5 separate regions of the Homo sapiens genome follow, and regions 2, 3, 4 and 5 are each linked to region 1. The links are contacts of gene promoters, found by promoter capture Hi-C in blood cells and fetal thymus (Javierre and others, 2016). All regions are on one chromosome and are shown on one strand. The core of a region is centred on a gene start or on the middle of the fragment in contact, and the rest is flanking DNA. Distances in the headings are between cores, read along the strand shown. Region 1 holds the start of ANGPT2 (angiopoietin 2). Region 2 has its middle 160 kb from the start of MCPH1-DT. Region 3 has its middle 140 kb from the start of MCPH1-DT. Region 4 has its middle 16 kb from the start of DEFB1. Region 5 holds the start of XKR5 (XK related 5).

Region 1 (2,637 bases), core at 77-2,576:
GGGGGCTTTTTCCCTATGTACACTTGGGCTGCTGAGTTAACATATTATTAATCTCTGAAGTATTAAGTTTTAGTTGTTAAAGGAAGTGACTTGCAGAACTTACAGAGCCATAGGATTGAAGGTGAAAAATCTTGTGAGTGCACCCCTTGAATTGCACAGATGAGGACATTAGAGCTTAATTAAAACAGGGAAGTGACTTGCCCGAGTCTAATACCAAGGGGGACTAATGTAATTGATAATGTGTTACAAAATGCTGAGATGTCAACAAATTCTGACACAATAAAGAAGTTTGTGGGCCAGGCATGGTGACTCACACCTGTAATCTCAGCACTTTGGGAGGCCAAAGGCGAGTCGATCACAAGGTCATGAGTTTGAGACCAGCCTAACATGGTGAAACCCTGTCTCTACTAAAAATACAAAAATTAGCCGGGTGTGGTGGCGTTTGCCTGTAATCCCAGCTGCTCAGGAGCCTGAGGCAAGAGAATCACTTGAACCCGGAAGGCGGAGGTTGCAGTGAGCCAACATTGCCCCACTGCACTCTAGCCTGGTCGACAGAGCGAGACTCCGTCTCAAAAAAAAAAAAAAAAAAAAAAAGTTTGTATTCCTCTTTCTACACAGGCACTTAAATTCTAATTTCTCTATTGTAATGTAATGAACTTAATCAGTACAGTGTATTTTTAGAGTGAATATCCAAGTGGAGTTTTTTTAAAGAATAAAGGTCAGAGCTCAGAAACTGATGTTTCTAACGTGACTTAATAACAGATCTTTCTATCCAACTGTTCGGAAATGAAAATCTTTTGTAACTTGGCTAGTGGTTCAAGAATCAACTAAAATCAATGAATCTATTTTTCCCTCTGAAAAGGCACACGTTTACAGGAGCCAAACTTCTTCCTCTTTATTTGTAATAACAAAAATAAACCGAAGTCCTGACCTATTTGTAATATTTTTATTCCTAAAGGAAAAAACAGGAACTTTCATTGTACTTCAACATTAAAGTTATTACCTCAGATATTTTGCCAGCTTAGCACGGCAAAAATCAGTTTCAGACAAAAGAGATCAACTGCTCTCTCTAGGAAATACTTAATTGGGGTGGTGCCTAGGAAATGCCCAGGGGTCCTGTAACAGATCGGTTTTTCCCAGAGGGTTTCTGCAGCATGGGTCCTGGTTGGAGGGCAGGCATTCTGCTCTGATTTTTCCTGTTGCCTGGCTAGTGACCCCCTACAGGAAGATAACGGCTAAGCCAGGAGGGCGGAGCAGCCCACTACACATGTCTGGCTGCTCTTATCAACTTATCATATAAGGAAAGGAAAGTGATTGATTCGGATACTGACACTGTAGGATCTGGGGAGAGAGGAACAAAGGACCGTGAAAGCTGCTCTGTAAAAGCTGACACAGCCCTCCCAAGTGAGCAGGACTGTTCTTCCCACTGCAATCTGACAGTTTACTGCATGCCTGGAGAGAACACAGCAGTAAAAACCAGGTTTGCTACTGGAAAAAGAGGAAAGAGAAGACTTTCATTGACGGACCCAGCCATGGCAGCGTAGCAGCCCTGCGTTTTAGACGGCAGCAGCTCGGGACTCTGGACGTGTGTTTGCCCTCAAGTTTGCTAAGCTGCTGGTTTATTACTGAAGAAAGAATGTGGCAGATTGTTTTCTTTACTCTGAGCTGTGATCTTGTCTTGGCCGCAGCCTATAACAACTTTCGGAAGAGCATGGACAGCATAGGAAAGAAGCAATATCAGGTCCAGCATGGGTCCTGCAGCTACACTTTCCTCCTGCCAGAGATGGACAACTGCCGCTCTTCCTCCAGCCCCTACGTGTCCAATGCTGTGCAGAGGGACGCGCCGCTCGAATACGATGACTCGGTGCAGAGGCTGCAAGTGCTGGAGAACATCATGGAAAACAACACTCAGTGGCTAATGAAGGTAGGAAAAAAATCCATCTGTCTTTGTGAACATGCTATTAAGATCAGCTTGGCAGCAGCTCAGGTTTTAACAACCAAAAAAAAAAAAAAAAAAAGAAGGAGGATGAAGAGGATTAGAGCTGGAGAGCGGGTTGCTGGTACCCTCAAATGAAAGATAATTTCTTTTATTCTATCCCAGGGTGTGTGGGTAGTCCCCGGGGTGAAAATAATTATTTGGAAAGAATGCCAGAGTCAATACAGAAAATCTCTAAAGTTAGAAATCTTTATTAACAAGGTAGAGGAAATATACTTCCCTGCACAACTTGTGTGCCGTTCTGTTTGTTTACATCGTTTAAGCTCAGTAACACCCATCACCAGGGAGGCTCTCAGCTGGTTGCAGGCAAGTGAGGGAAGGCTGTGAGCCGCAGCAGCCCGTGAGCCAGAGAGACCGTGACAACCATGCTGATGACCGAGGCATAACGGATGGAGTAAAGTGCTTTACCAATTTCCTGAATTTATTTACTAAAATAGGTTGTGACTCTTGGTAAACGAGAGGAAATTAAATAAAGCAGACCTTATGTTTCTCAGAATCTCAGGGCCCTACCACTAAGGGCTTGCCGTCTGTAAACAGGGGCACAGTTCCCAAGCGTCCCAGAGGTATTCAGCACTGCAGCCCCCGTCAGTTCCAGCAACCGGTGCGGAATGCGTCCCCACGTGGGACGGTTATGTTCAAGT
Region 2 (2,637 bases), core at 83-2,582, 320 kb after region 1:
AGAAACTCATAAGTTAGCTGAAAATTAGAAAACTGGATGTTATAAAATGACTTGTGACTTTCTCAGATGAAGCATGCCTGAGCTCCAAAGTTCCAGTTAAGGTCTCGTCTTTGAGCTGCTTATGCCAGTGGACAGCTCTTGCACTGAGTTTCTGCTTTATTCTGTTTGATTATGTGGCCGTATATTTCCCTCGTGAAACATTTTGAGTGACCCTTTACCAAGGAAATGGCTTTTTAAGCTAGTGAATCACATCTTCGCATATTTCCTTCCGTTTCCTCTCTTTATTTCCATGTAAAATATTCCAAATGACATTAAGTGTACGCTGAAATTGTCATGGGAAAAACCAAATAAAGTGCTTAGAAATATCTGCATATTCAGGAAAAAATCATTTGCCAAGTATTAACATGCAGGAGTGAGTAAATCATGTGGGAAGAAGGAAAAGGTCACATTCCAGTTTTACAAAGCAACAGCTGCCATAGCTGAAAAAGAGAAAAATCAATGCCATAAAACACTGTTTGATTTTTTTAAGGTGTAACAAATCAGAGAGTTTCCAATTAAAGTTTTTTTGGCACTGCCCCAATATTCACTTTTACATAAATGGATTTGATTGCTTTTTCTTTGACACGAAATTTCCAGAATTTGGTGTAACAGTGTAAGACTCTGAGAGGGTTGTGGAAAAAGATGGGTGTAGACGGCTGTGAGCTTTAGACTTGTGATCTGGCTTTTTGTATCAGTGAAGATAGGATTTGTGTTCCATTGACCCAAACTATGGTGTCTTACCGCAGGTAAAGGTTTATTTCTCCCACATAAACATCCAGAGGCAGGAAGTCTGTGGAAAGCATGTTGGCCTCAGGGATCTTGGCTCTTTCTAGCTCATGTATATGATGCCCAGAACTTGTGCTCATGGTCCAGCATGGTAACTAAGGCACCAGCTGGCCCATGAGCACGTCAGGCATCAGGGCAGAGGAACATGAAGAAGGAACAGAGGGCATGAAGCAGGTGCCCTTTTATTCAAAGATGCTTTAATTGATATTGAATACCCATGTGACAGTGAAACCGCATAACTAACACCAGTTTTGTTTAAGGGACCTCTGCCCATTCCTGTCCATAGGCTAGGATAATTTTAGAGCACTGAGATAAAACTCAAAAACAGCAATCATGTGGATGAATGGGGACTGTAAGCAACTAACTGTTTTGTTGAAGATTTATGGGAGCGAGGAGGTTTGGCTATCACCATATGAGAGATCATTACCGAGGACCCTTGTTGGTGCCCAGATACCTGTCGTTGTCAACCCCCCTTCCCCCTTACCTAAAGATAAAAGACAAGGCAAAGCCCACTTAACTTTGAGCTGGTTCTTCAGGGCATTAGTCCACCATCTTCTTGGCTTGCTGGCTGTCCTAATAAAGTGGTTTTCTGGCCGGGTGCAGTGGCTCATGCCTGTAATCCCAGCACTTTGGGAGGCTGAGGCGGGTGGATCACAAGGTCAGGAGATTGAGACCATGCTGGCCAACATGGTGAAAGCCCCGTCTCTACTAAAAATACAAAAAAATAGCTGGGCACGGTGGTGCATGCCTGTAATCCCAGGTACTTGGGAGGCTGAGGCAGGAGAATCGCTTGAACCAGGGAATCGGAGGTTGCAGTGAGCCAAGATTGCGCCACTGCACTTCAGCCTGGTGACACAAGACTCCGTCTCAAAAAAACAAAAAACAAAAAACAAACAAAAAAGTGGCTTTCTTTGCTCCAACTCCTTGTCTCTCAACTTACTGGCCTTTGTGCAGCAAGCAGAATGAGTTTGGACTCAGTGACACACAAAACAATAAATAGTATGAAATGTGCAGCTTAATAAATTATGATAGAGAAGATGCTTATGAATTTCCCACAGCAGTCAAGAGACACAGCCAGCCCCTGAGGATCCCACTACCTCTGTCTTTTACCACTTCTCCATCAGCACCCTTTCTTCTTTCTCAAAGGTGGGTAGGTCTTGACTTCTTTGCCTGTTTTTGAATTTTATATAAATTTAACTGTACACTATGTGTTCTTGAATACACCTTCTTTCTCTTTATATTTATGAGATTCATCATGTTGCTAAAGGTAGCTGCAGTTTATCAGACTTCATGGCTGTCTGTGTTGTATTTATTTTATTGTTGATGATTTGGCTTGTTTCTCAATTGGGACTGTTAGGAATAGTGCTGCTATGAACATTCTTTTCTTTTAATTATTATTTTTTTTGAGACGGAGTCTTGCTCTGTTGCCCAGGCTGGAGTGCAGTGGCGATCTCGGCTCAATGCAAGCTCTGCCTCCCGGGTTTATAGCATTCTCCTGCTTCACCCTCCCGAGTAGCTGGGACTACAGGTGCCAGCCACCATGCCTGGCTAATTTTTTGTGTTTTTAGTAGAGAGGGGGTTTCACCGTGTTAGCCAGGATGGTCTTGATCTCCTGACCTAGTGATCTGCCCTTCTTGGCCTCCCAAAATTCTGGGATTACAGGTGTGAGCCACTGCGCGTGGCCTTTTTCTTTCTTTCTTTCTTTTTTTTTTTTTTTTTGAGACAGAGTTTCACACTTGTTGCCCAGGCTAGAGTGCAATGGCAGGATCTTGGCTCACCGTAACTCCCGCCTCCTGGGTTCAAGCGATTCTC
Region 3 (2,637 bases), core at 52-2,551, 290 kb after region 1:
TCTTTGAGAACTCAGACCGTTTTCTGCCTCACGGCCTTTGCACAGGCTGTTCTTGTTGCGTAGTCTGTTCTCTTCCTTGACATCCACATGGCCCCATCGCTCATCTCCTTCCTGTTGTTGGTCAAACGTGACTCTTTCAGGGAGGCCTTCCATGACCGTTCTCTTTAAAGTTGCACCCACCTCTTTCCGGTGCTCTTTTCTCCTTTATTTTTCTCTGCAGTACTTTGCACCATATGACATGCCTTAGGCTTTCTTTTTTTTCTTTTTCTTTTTTTGAGACAGAGTCTCGCTCTATTGCCAGGCTGGAGTGCAGTGGCGCGATCTCGGCTCACTGCAACCTCCACCTCCCAGGTTCAAGCGATTCTCCTGCCTCAGCCTCCAGTAGCTGGGACTACAGGCACGCGCCACCGTGCCCAGCTAACTTTTGTATTTTTAGTAGAGACGGGGTTTCACCATGTTGGCCAGGATGGTCTCGATCTCCTGACCTCGTGATCCGCCCACCTCGGCCTCCCAAAGTGCTGGGATTAGAGGCCTGAGCCGCCGCGCCCGGCAGCCTAATGCTTTCCTATCTGGCTCTTGTATGTGTTGCTCATCTAGACTGCAAACTCCAAAAAGGTAGGCGACTTTGTTTTGTCTGCTTCTGTAGCCCAGTACCTGGCCCATGGCAGGCACCTGATCGAGTTTGTTAAATGAATGCCTAATAAAGTAACTAGAATTTGGGAGGAGCCCTAGTGCAGCTCCAGAGGAAGATTTTTTTAGTCTCATCCTGTTGCCCAGGGTGGAGTGCAGTGGCAGGATCTCAGCTCACTGCAATCTCTGCCTCCCAGGTTCAAGCGATTCTCCCACCTTAGCCTCCTGAGTAACTGGGATTATAGGTGTGCTCCATCATGCCCAGCTGATTTTGTATTTTTAGTAGAAATGGGGTTTTGCCGTGTTGGCCAGGCTAGTATTGAACTCCTGACCTCAAGTGATCCACCGACCTCGGCCTCCCAAAGTGCTGGGATTACAGATATGAGCCGCTGTGCCGGGCCCAGAGGGAAATTTTTTTGAGGCCCTGGAAGAAAAATGGAGAGAAAATAGAGGGAAGAAGAAATACACCAATATATGATACTTGTATGCAAGACTTTGCACCCTTTTTATTTTTGGGGGGTGTTCTTGGCAAAGCCTCTAGCCTCATTGCCTACTTCATTTTATCTTTTTATTTGTTTATTTTTTAGAGATGGAGGTCTGGAGTCTCACTGATTTCCAGGCTGGTCTTGAACTCCCGGCCTCAAGTGATCCTCCCACTTTGGCCTCCCATTATTGTCTACTTTAAATGGTGGAAAAGTAAAAATCGTCTGATTAATATTTCAAAACTATGTCCTAATTGTGTATGTGTATGTTTACCTCTATTTTATGTATACTTTTATACCTATCTAGATTAAAATTGAATTGCTGTGTAAGTACCAGGTGATAATCTGGTGTTTAAATCGGAGCACTGGGATGAGTTAATTAAGATATCTGAATAATTGTTTCCTCTATCAGTATTGTTTTTGAATGAAATAGAATATATGCTAATGATATATGCTTGGTGGGCCTACTTTACCCACAGGGGTGGGGTCACCAAGTGACTAATTAACTCTCTGAGCTGATTAAAGATTTTTTTTTTTTTTTTTTTTTTTTAAGAAGGAGTCTTGCTCTGTCACCCAGGCTGGAGTGCGGTGGCGCCATCTTGGCTCACTGCAAGCTCTGCCTCCTGGGTTCACGCCATTCTCCTGCCTCAGCCTCCCCAGTAGCTGGGACTACAGGCGCCCGCCTCCACGCCTGGCTGATTTTGTTTTTGTATTTTTAGTAGAGATGGGGTTTCACCGAGTTAGCCAGGATGGTGTCCATCTCCTGACCTCATGATCTGCCCGCTTTGGCCTTCCAAAGTGCTGGGATTACAGGCCTGAGCCACTGCGCCTGGCCTGATTAAAGAATTTTAAAGAAAACCTCCTGATTGTCACCAGGTGTCTTTTTTAGAAAGCTATAAATGTCTCTTATACTTCAAAATGAAAACAAAATCCCTCAGCATTTTTAACCTCAAATGAGTGAAAACCAAACCACAATGACACAAAAAGACGATGTGAGGATCACAGAAGGAAAAGATAAATGACAGCTTTGCAAAATAGTCGGCCAGCAGAGCCCCATACTTATGGTCTATTGCATGCTGTCTGTTGTCTTTGAGGACTCTCATGTGATTTAAAAAAGATTTGAGAGGATTTGGAAGTTTTTAAAGGAAAGAAAAAATAATCTGCCAGATGGTCAATGAAGAATTCTTTCTTTAAAACAAAGTTTTATGATTACACTTGTAGTTTACTTATGCTTCCTTATTTAAGTTTTTGATGTAGTAGAACATAGACAATTACCAGTAAGTAGTCAGTCAAAATTCTGGATTGTTCTTTCATATTCCTAGTTTAGTGAGAGTTTTTAATCATCAGTGGATATCAACATTTATCAGTGCTTTTCACACATTTATTAATATAATCACTTTTTTTTTGCAATTTAGTCTATGAATATAGTAAATTATATTGCTTGATTTTAAAATATCAAACCAATTTTCATTCGTAGGATAAATATCACTTGGTCATGGTGGTCATGGTATATTTTTCTTTTCAT
Region 4 (2,637 bases), core at 98-2,597, 300 kb before region 1:
AGCTTCCCCACGTCCCTTCTAGCCTCCCCCACTCCCCACCAGCCTCCCCCACTCCCCACCAGCCTCCCTACCCGCTCCCTGCCCTGTGGGCAGAGCTGAGCAGGACCTTCCCAGATCCGCCCCACCGCAAAGCAGGTACTGAGTAGGGAACTTGGGGCTGAGAAACAATAGCTTCGTAACCAGCCCAGTGACTCTTGCAGAAACCAGGGCAGAGTGTGATTAGACATGTCCTGTCCCGGGGCAGCCGTCATCCCATGGTTGACAACACATTTCACCCCAGAGCGTTCCTGCCTCCACCTGAGCCAGAGCTTCTAGTGTGTTTTTCCTCACCTCCCCATGTTCTGTGAGCCCAGCCCCCCTTAGATCCCCTTCCTCCAGCTACTAGAGAATCTCTCATCCAGCGACTATGACCCAGCACCAAAGCAGGTCACCGTGAACCCCACGTGGGGCAGGAAACCACAGGCTGACTCTCAAGTCAGACAGACCTGGGCCTTTGGACAAGCTGCACAACTTCTCTGATTCTTGCATTCTTGGGTGTATGAAAGTGAGTAGAATAAATGGACCCCCCCGGACAGGTGTGAGGACTCAGTGAGATAACCTTTATGTGGCACTCATCCAGCCCAGCCAGCCCCTGACATACAATCAGAACTCAGCTCATCTCAGTCTCCTTCCTCATTCTCCATCTTGCTCTTGGAGGTGTCATGGATGGGACACCTGAGTCACCTCGTCCAGCCGGCCAGCGTGAAGGAGCCTGACTGGCCCATCCACACATGGTTTCCTTGGCTGCCTCCATCTGCCTCCATCTCTCATAAGGTGGTTTTGCTCTTTCTGTGGATTGAAGAGCCTCCAACTGTGGCCTAGAGTATGGCTCAGGGCTGAATCAGAATATATGTACAAGAAGACAGAAGTCAGGTACAACTGGACACTTGAAAGGCTTTGGAGCAGAAAGGATGTCACAGTTGAAGCTGAACAGACTAGAAACCATCCAGAGAGGTGAAGGCGAAGGCCTTGGGTCCAGTTCCTCTGCCACCACCCACCTGCGTGTCTACCTGGACAAGGACTTAAAACTCTCGGGCCCTTGTTTTTCTCCCTTAAAATTATGGCAAACATGGTAATAAAACGTTTATGGGAACTTACTCGGCAAAGTGTTATAACTGATTTGACTGATGTGACTCGTTAGGTATGGGAACCCCCAAAATCTGAGACAGGTTTCAGTTAATTTAGAAAGTTTGTCAAGGTGGAGGATGCGCACCCGTGACACAGCCTCAGGAAGTCCTGACGTCATGTGCCCAAGGTGGTTGGAGCACAGTTTGGTTTTACACATTTTAGGCAGACATAAGACATCAATCAATATATGTGAAAAGTACATTGGTTCGGTCTGGAAAGATAGGACAATTTGAAGGAAAGCCAGGAAGACTTGAAGCAGGGAGGGGCTTCCAGGTCACAGATAGGTGAAATACAAACTTGCCTTATTTCGAGTTTCTGATTAGCTTTTCCAAAAGAGGCAATCAGATATGCATTCATCTCAATGAGCAGGGAGATAACTTTGACTAGAATGGGAGGCAGGTTGAATAGAATGGGAGGCAGGTTGAATAGAATGGGAGGCAGGTTGAATAGAATGGGAGGTAGGTTGAATAGAATGGGAGGTAGGTTGAATAGAATGGGAGGTAGGTTGAATAGAATGAGAGGCAGGTTGGCCCTAAGCGGTTTCCAGCTTGAGTTTTCCTTTTAGCTTAGTGAGTTTTGGGGGCCCAAGATATTTTTCTTTCCCAGGGAGCAAACCTGAAGTGGTTTCTTCTTCCAAAAACTGCTAATGGTCTCTCAGTCCAATTCCATAGATTTTTAGCAGCTTTCCATTGTTAAAGAATCTCCTTCTTTTTCCTGACGCCCCACTCACTGGCATGGGACATGACGTCAGGCTCATCCTCTCTCCTCCATCACCCCCATCAAAGCCAATATCTTTATCTTTTGAGACCCTTTTACTCAACAAGTGGCCCTGTAATGAGAGGCAGGACCGAAACCGCCTTTGCAAAATTATAACTGAGGAAATTATATCAGTGAAAGATCAGACCTAACAGACCCCCGGACCCCCATCTTCCTTCTAACGTCTAAACTGTCTTTGTTCATTCCCCCACCCCATCTAAACCGAGCTAGCCTTGGGAAGGAATTTAGTTTATAGTTTAAACTCTGAAACAAAATGGATACTAGCCCTTTCCCCCAAAAAAACCCCTTTTTGCCTGGGGACCAGTCTGCCTTCGTAGGACTAACAAATTAGCTACAAAATTAGATATCAGAAAAACTCCTTCTTGCCTGGCGACCAGTCTGCCTTTGTAGGAACAAATTAGCTACACAGTTAGATATCATGATTTAGGGACCATGCAGCCTCTGGCTACAAGAGTCTGGACCTCTCCCAATTGCTCCTGGGAATAACGTCACTATAGTAAAACCTAAGATCAGTGCTTGAAGTATTTTGCAGATCCTATATTCCGGTGCAGCAGATGACACCACCCAGACTGAAAATCTGGCTCAACCAGTTCTGTGATCCCACCCAGGAACAGAAGTCAGCAAAAACTCACTTTGACCCCCTGTCATTTCATCTTCAACCTGACCAGTCAGCACTCCCCACTTTCTGAGTCC
Region 5 (2,637 bases), core at 59-2,558, 270 kb before region 1:
GATACGTGTGTGTATATATCTCCATATCTGTAAATATATATAAATATAGATATAGATATCTCCGAAGAGAAGGTTTTCCAATGTGCACTTTTTCTTCTTGCACATTGCGATCTTAACCCTCAAGCACATCTGGAAAAAGCTTCCATGAGGATACAGCCTGGGATGGATTTGTGGGCGAGGTGTAGACCACGATACCGGGTAACGTGCCCTGTGTTTTCTGGACACAGAACTGTAAGATTTCAAAAAGACCCAATCAATGATTCTAACCCAACTCTACATATATTTACTCAAACACAGTATTCCTCCCTGACTAGTGGTTAACGGACTTGCTTTAGGCGGCCCCAGAGGCGGTGGCCAGTTTAGCCACCTCCCGAGGAACCTGCGCAGTCCCGACGCTCACCAAGCGCTTTCCTGGCGGTTACAGGGTTGGGGGCAGCGCAGAACCCGCTTCTGCCCTTATCAGGAGCCCGGACCTGAGCTGGACTCCACCACCTCGTCCCCACCCACCCTGGAAGCCAGAAACCCCAAGCATCCTCCCTCCCTCCCCTGCTGGCCACTACGAATAAACCAGACATACAATTCGCGCCTAACGGCTTAGCCAGAAATGCCACCCGCAGTCGGGCCCCGGGCCGGAAACCTCCCCGACGCGGGGCCGCGTGCAGGGGAAGGGGCGGGCGCAGGCTGCGGGGTCGGCACGGAAGATGCACGCGAGGCTCCTGGGGCTCTCGGCCCTGCTGCAGGCGGCCGAGCAGAGCGCGCGTGAGTGCGGCAGCCCGAGGCTGTGCTCACCCCTGCAGCCCCTAACCCCACCCCGGCGCCGGGAGCCGCACAGGCTGCCTATGCCCGGGCGGGCACTGCCCCAGCCTGCGCCCAGCACTGCGCGCCGGTGACGCACGGTGGTGGCCATCCCACCTGCAGAGCACGTCCTCCCGTCCTTAGTAGATGCCCACGCATGCACCATCCCCCCAAGGATGCATGATTTTCCTCCACCCATGCTCGGTTCCCCCCCCTCCCGACTGGTGCTTGACTTCCTCCCGCCCATGCACGATCCCCCCGCCCCACGCATGCAAGATCCCCTCGCAGAAGCAGGGGAGATGTATCCGCCCTTCCTTCCATCACAAGCTTTGCAAAGTGCTGCGATGCCAAGATGTGCTGAGCGCAAGTCTGGGGGCGCCCGGGCTCTCCCCCGACCCCCGGCCGTCCAGGGGGACCCTGCGACTTGGAGGCCGCTCGCAGAAGGGGTGGCGGGGGGAGGGGGACAGGGCTCCGCATCCACGCGGCCCTGTAGGACGGCGACTCCGCTTCGGGGTTTAGGACGGGGCGGGACGCGGCCCTTCGAGGCCACCTCCGTCGCAGGGGGAACCCAGAGCCCGCCAGCCGCGGCGGAGCAAGATGGCCCCATTTTTCGCGCCCTTCTGGTTTGAACGCGTAACTCCTTCAGTGCCGGGAGGAGCGTCTCCGCCCACTTCCGCCGGGCTCCCTGCGGAAGCTTTTTCCCGGGCAGAGTCCCTGGGGTGGAAGAGGGGGTACCCTGGGAACGCCGCCTTGGGACTTTTCCCTGAGTTCGCGGGCGTCCCCGCAGGTCCCGCTGCTTCCGAGGCGCGCCGAGCAGGACGCACACGGAGGACGCGCAAGCGCCCTGGCTCCGCGCCCCGGACTGGAAGGGCTGAGACAGGACCTGCGGGGGTCGGCACCCACCCCAGGTGTCCTCCCTTGCCCTCCAGCTGGGCACGGACTGGGTGTCAGCATTCCCCAGCCCTGCAGCACCGAAGGCTTTTCGTGCAAGGGAGGCTGCCGCAGGACGCTCGGGGTGGTGACAGCCGGACCCAGCCTGGGCGCTAAGGGCTGCCTGAGCCCGGACCCCGCGGTCTAGAGCTGCAGCGTCTGCAGCTGTACCTCAGGGCAGTTTTCCCAGTTTCCCTAAAATCCGCGGCTTGTGTTCATTCATCCACTTAGAACTTTACTATTGGAAAACCTAAGTAACAGTTGTGTGAAACGATGCCTGTGTGCGGTGCCTCTACCAGCGCACCGCCTCCAAGATCAGCCTCAGACAACCCTGAGGAGGCCGTGCTAGGAGTATTGGGGAGGCCCAGAGTTCCAGGCCAGGGAGTTCCCCATGTGAAAGTAGGAGAAAAGGGACCCCACAGAGAGAGCTGTGACCCCACAGGGACTAACGGTTTCGTAGTGCGGAGTTACTGACTGCGGAGTGCACATTCTCTCTCCACTGCGTAACCACCATCAAAAACAAACAAGCAAACAAACCAGAGAGGAGGTTTCATCGTTCTCGAGGATGCACAAGATGCTAGGCGCTTCACACATGTCGTATATTGCCCAACAGCTCTGGAAAGCCCTGACAATGTCATTTAGTGAATGCCTGTCCCTGTTGCCAGAGGCTCTGCTGGCTCCCAGCCTGCTCCTAGGAGACTCTTGCTGGTGATGGGGACACTGTGTTGGTTGGTTACTGTTTTGTTTTGTTTTGAGACAAGAGTCTTGCTCTGTGGCCCAGGCTGGAATGCAGTGGCCCAATCTCGACTCACTGCAAACTCCGCCTCCTGAGTTGAAGCCATTCTGGTGCCTCATCCATCCCGAGTAGCTGGTATTACAGGCACGCAGCCAGCAAACTTGCTCATTTTTGTA

What was found. Contacts are between HindIII fragments. The CHiCAGO score rates a contact against its expected background, and 5 or more counts as called.
Region 2: a contact is called between a fragment that was not itself captured here and the fragment with the promoter of ANGPT2 in region 1, in 1 of 17 cell types (total CD8 T cells). The highest score is 5.6, in total CD8 T cells.
Region 3: a contact is called between a fragment that was not itself captured here and the fragment with the promoter of ANGPT2 in region 1, in 1 of 17 cell types (neutrophils). The highest score is 5.6, in neutrophils.
Region 4: a contact is called between a fragment that was not itself captured here and the fragment with the promoter of ANGPT2 in region 1, in 5 of 17 cell types (total CD4 T cells, total B cells, fetal thymus and 2 more). The highest score is 6.3, in total CD4 T cells.
Region 5: a fragment that was not itself captured here is called in contact with the fragment with the promoter of ANGPT2 in region 1 in 3 of 17 cell types (erythroblasts, fetal thymus and megakaryocytes); the score reaches 13.7 in erythroblasts.

Annotation. Positions count from the first base shown.
Region 1 is chr8:6,561,934-6,564,570 of GRCh38, reverse strand. It overlaps ANGPT2 (angiopoietin 2), which reads left to right and starts at 1,326. Exons shown (of 9, transcript NM_001118887.2): 1 at 1,326-1,924. The coding sequence starts at 1,637. All of the region lies in intron 12 of MCPH1 (microcephalin 1), which reads right to left. RefSeq lists enhancers at 1,457-1,983, 1,984-2,509. The HindIII fragment of the contact is 4,979 bases long and covers 1-2,637 here.
Region 2 is chr8:6,244,802-6,247,438 of GRCh38, reverse strand. No RefSeq gene overlaps it. Among named protein-coding and RNA genes, the nearest start is that of MCPH1-DT, 160 kb to the left of the region's middle. The HindIII fragment of the contact is 6,089 bases long and covers 1-2,637 here.
Region 3 is chr8:6,267,979-6,270,615 of GRCh38, reverse strand. No RefSeq gene overlaps it. Among named protein-coding and RNA genes, the nearest start is that of MCPH1-DT, 140 kb to the left of the region's middle. The HindIII fragment of the contact is 4,880 bases long and covers 1-2,637 here.
Region 4 is chr8:6,860,574-6,863,210 of GRCh38, reverse strand. No RefSeq gene overlaps it. Among named protein-coding and RNA genes, the nearest start is that of DEFB1, 16 kb to the left of the region's middle. The HindIII fragment of the contact is 4,956 bases long and covers 1-2,637 here.
Region 5 is chr8:6,833,558-6,836,194 of GRCh38, reverse strand. It overlaps XKR5 (XK related 5), which reads left to right and starts at 671. Exons shown (of 7, transcript NM_207411.5): 1 at 671-759. The coding sequence starts at 702. GS1-24F4.2 (a long non-coding RNA gene) reads right to left here and starts at 641. Exons shown (of 3, transcript NR_045217.1): 1 at 578-641; 2 at 1-229. RefSeq lists an enhancer at 1,421-2,289. The HindIII fragment of the contact is 367 bases long and covers 1,125-1,491 here.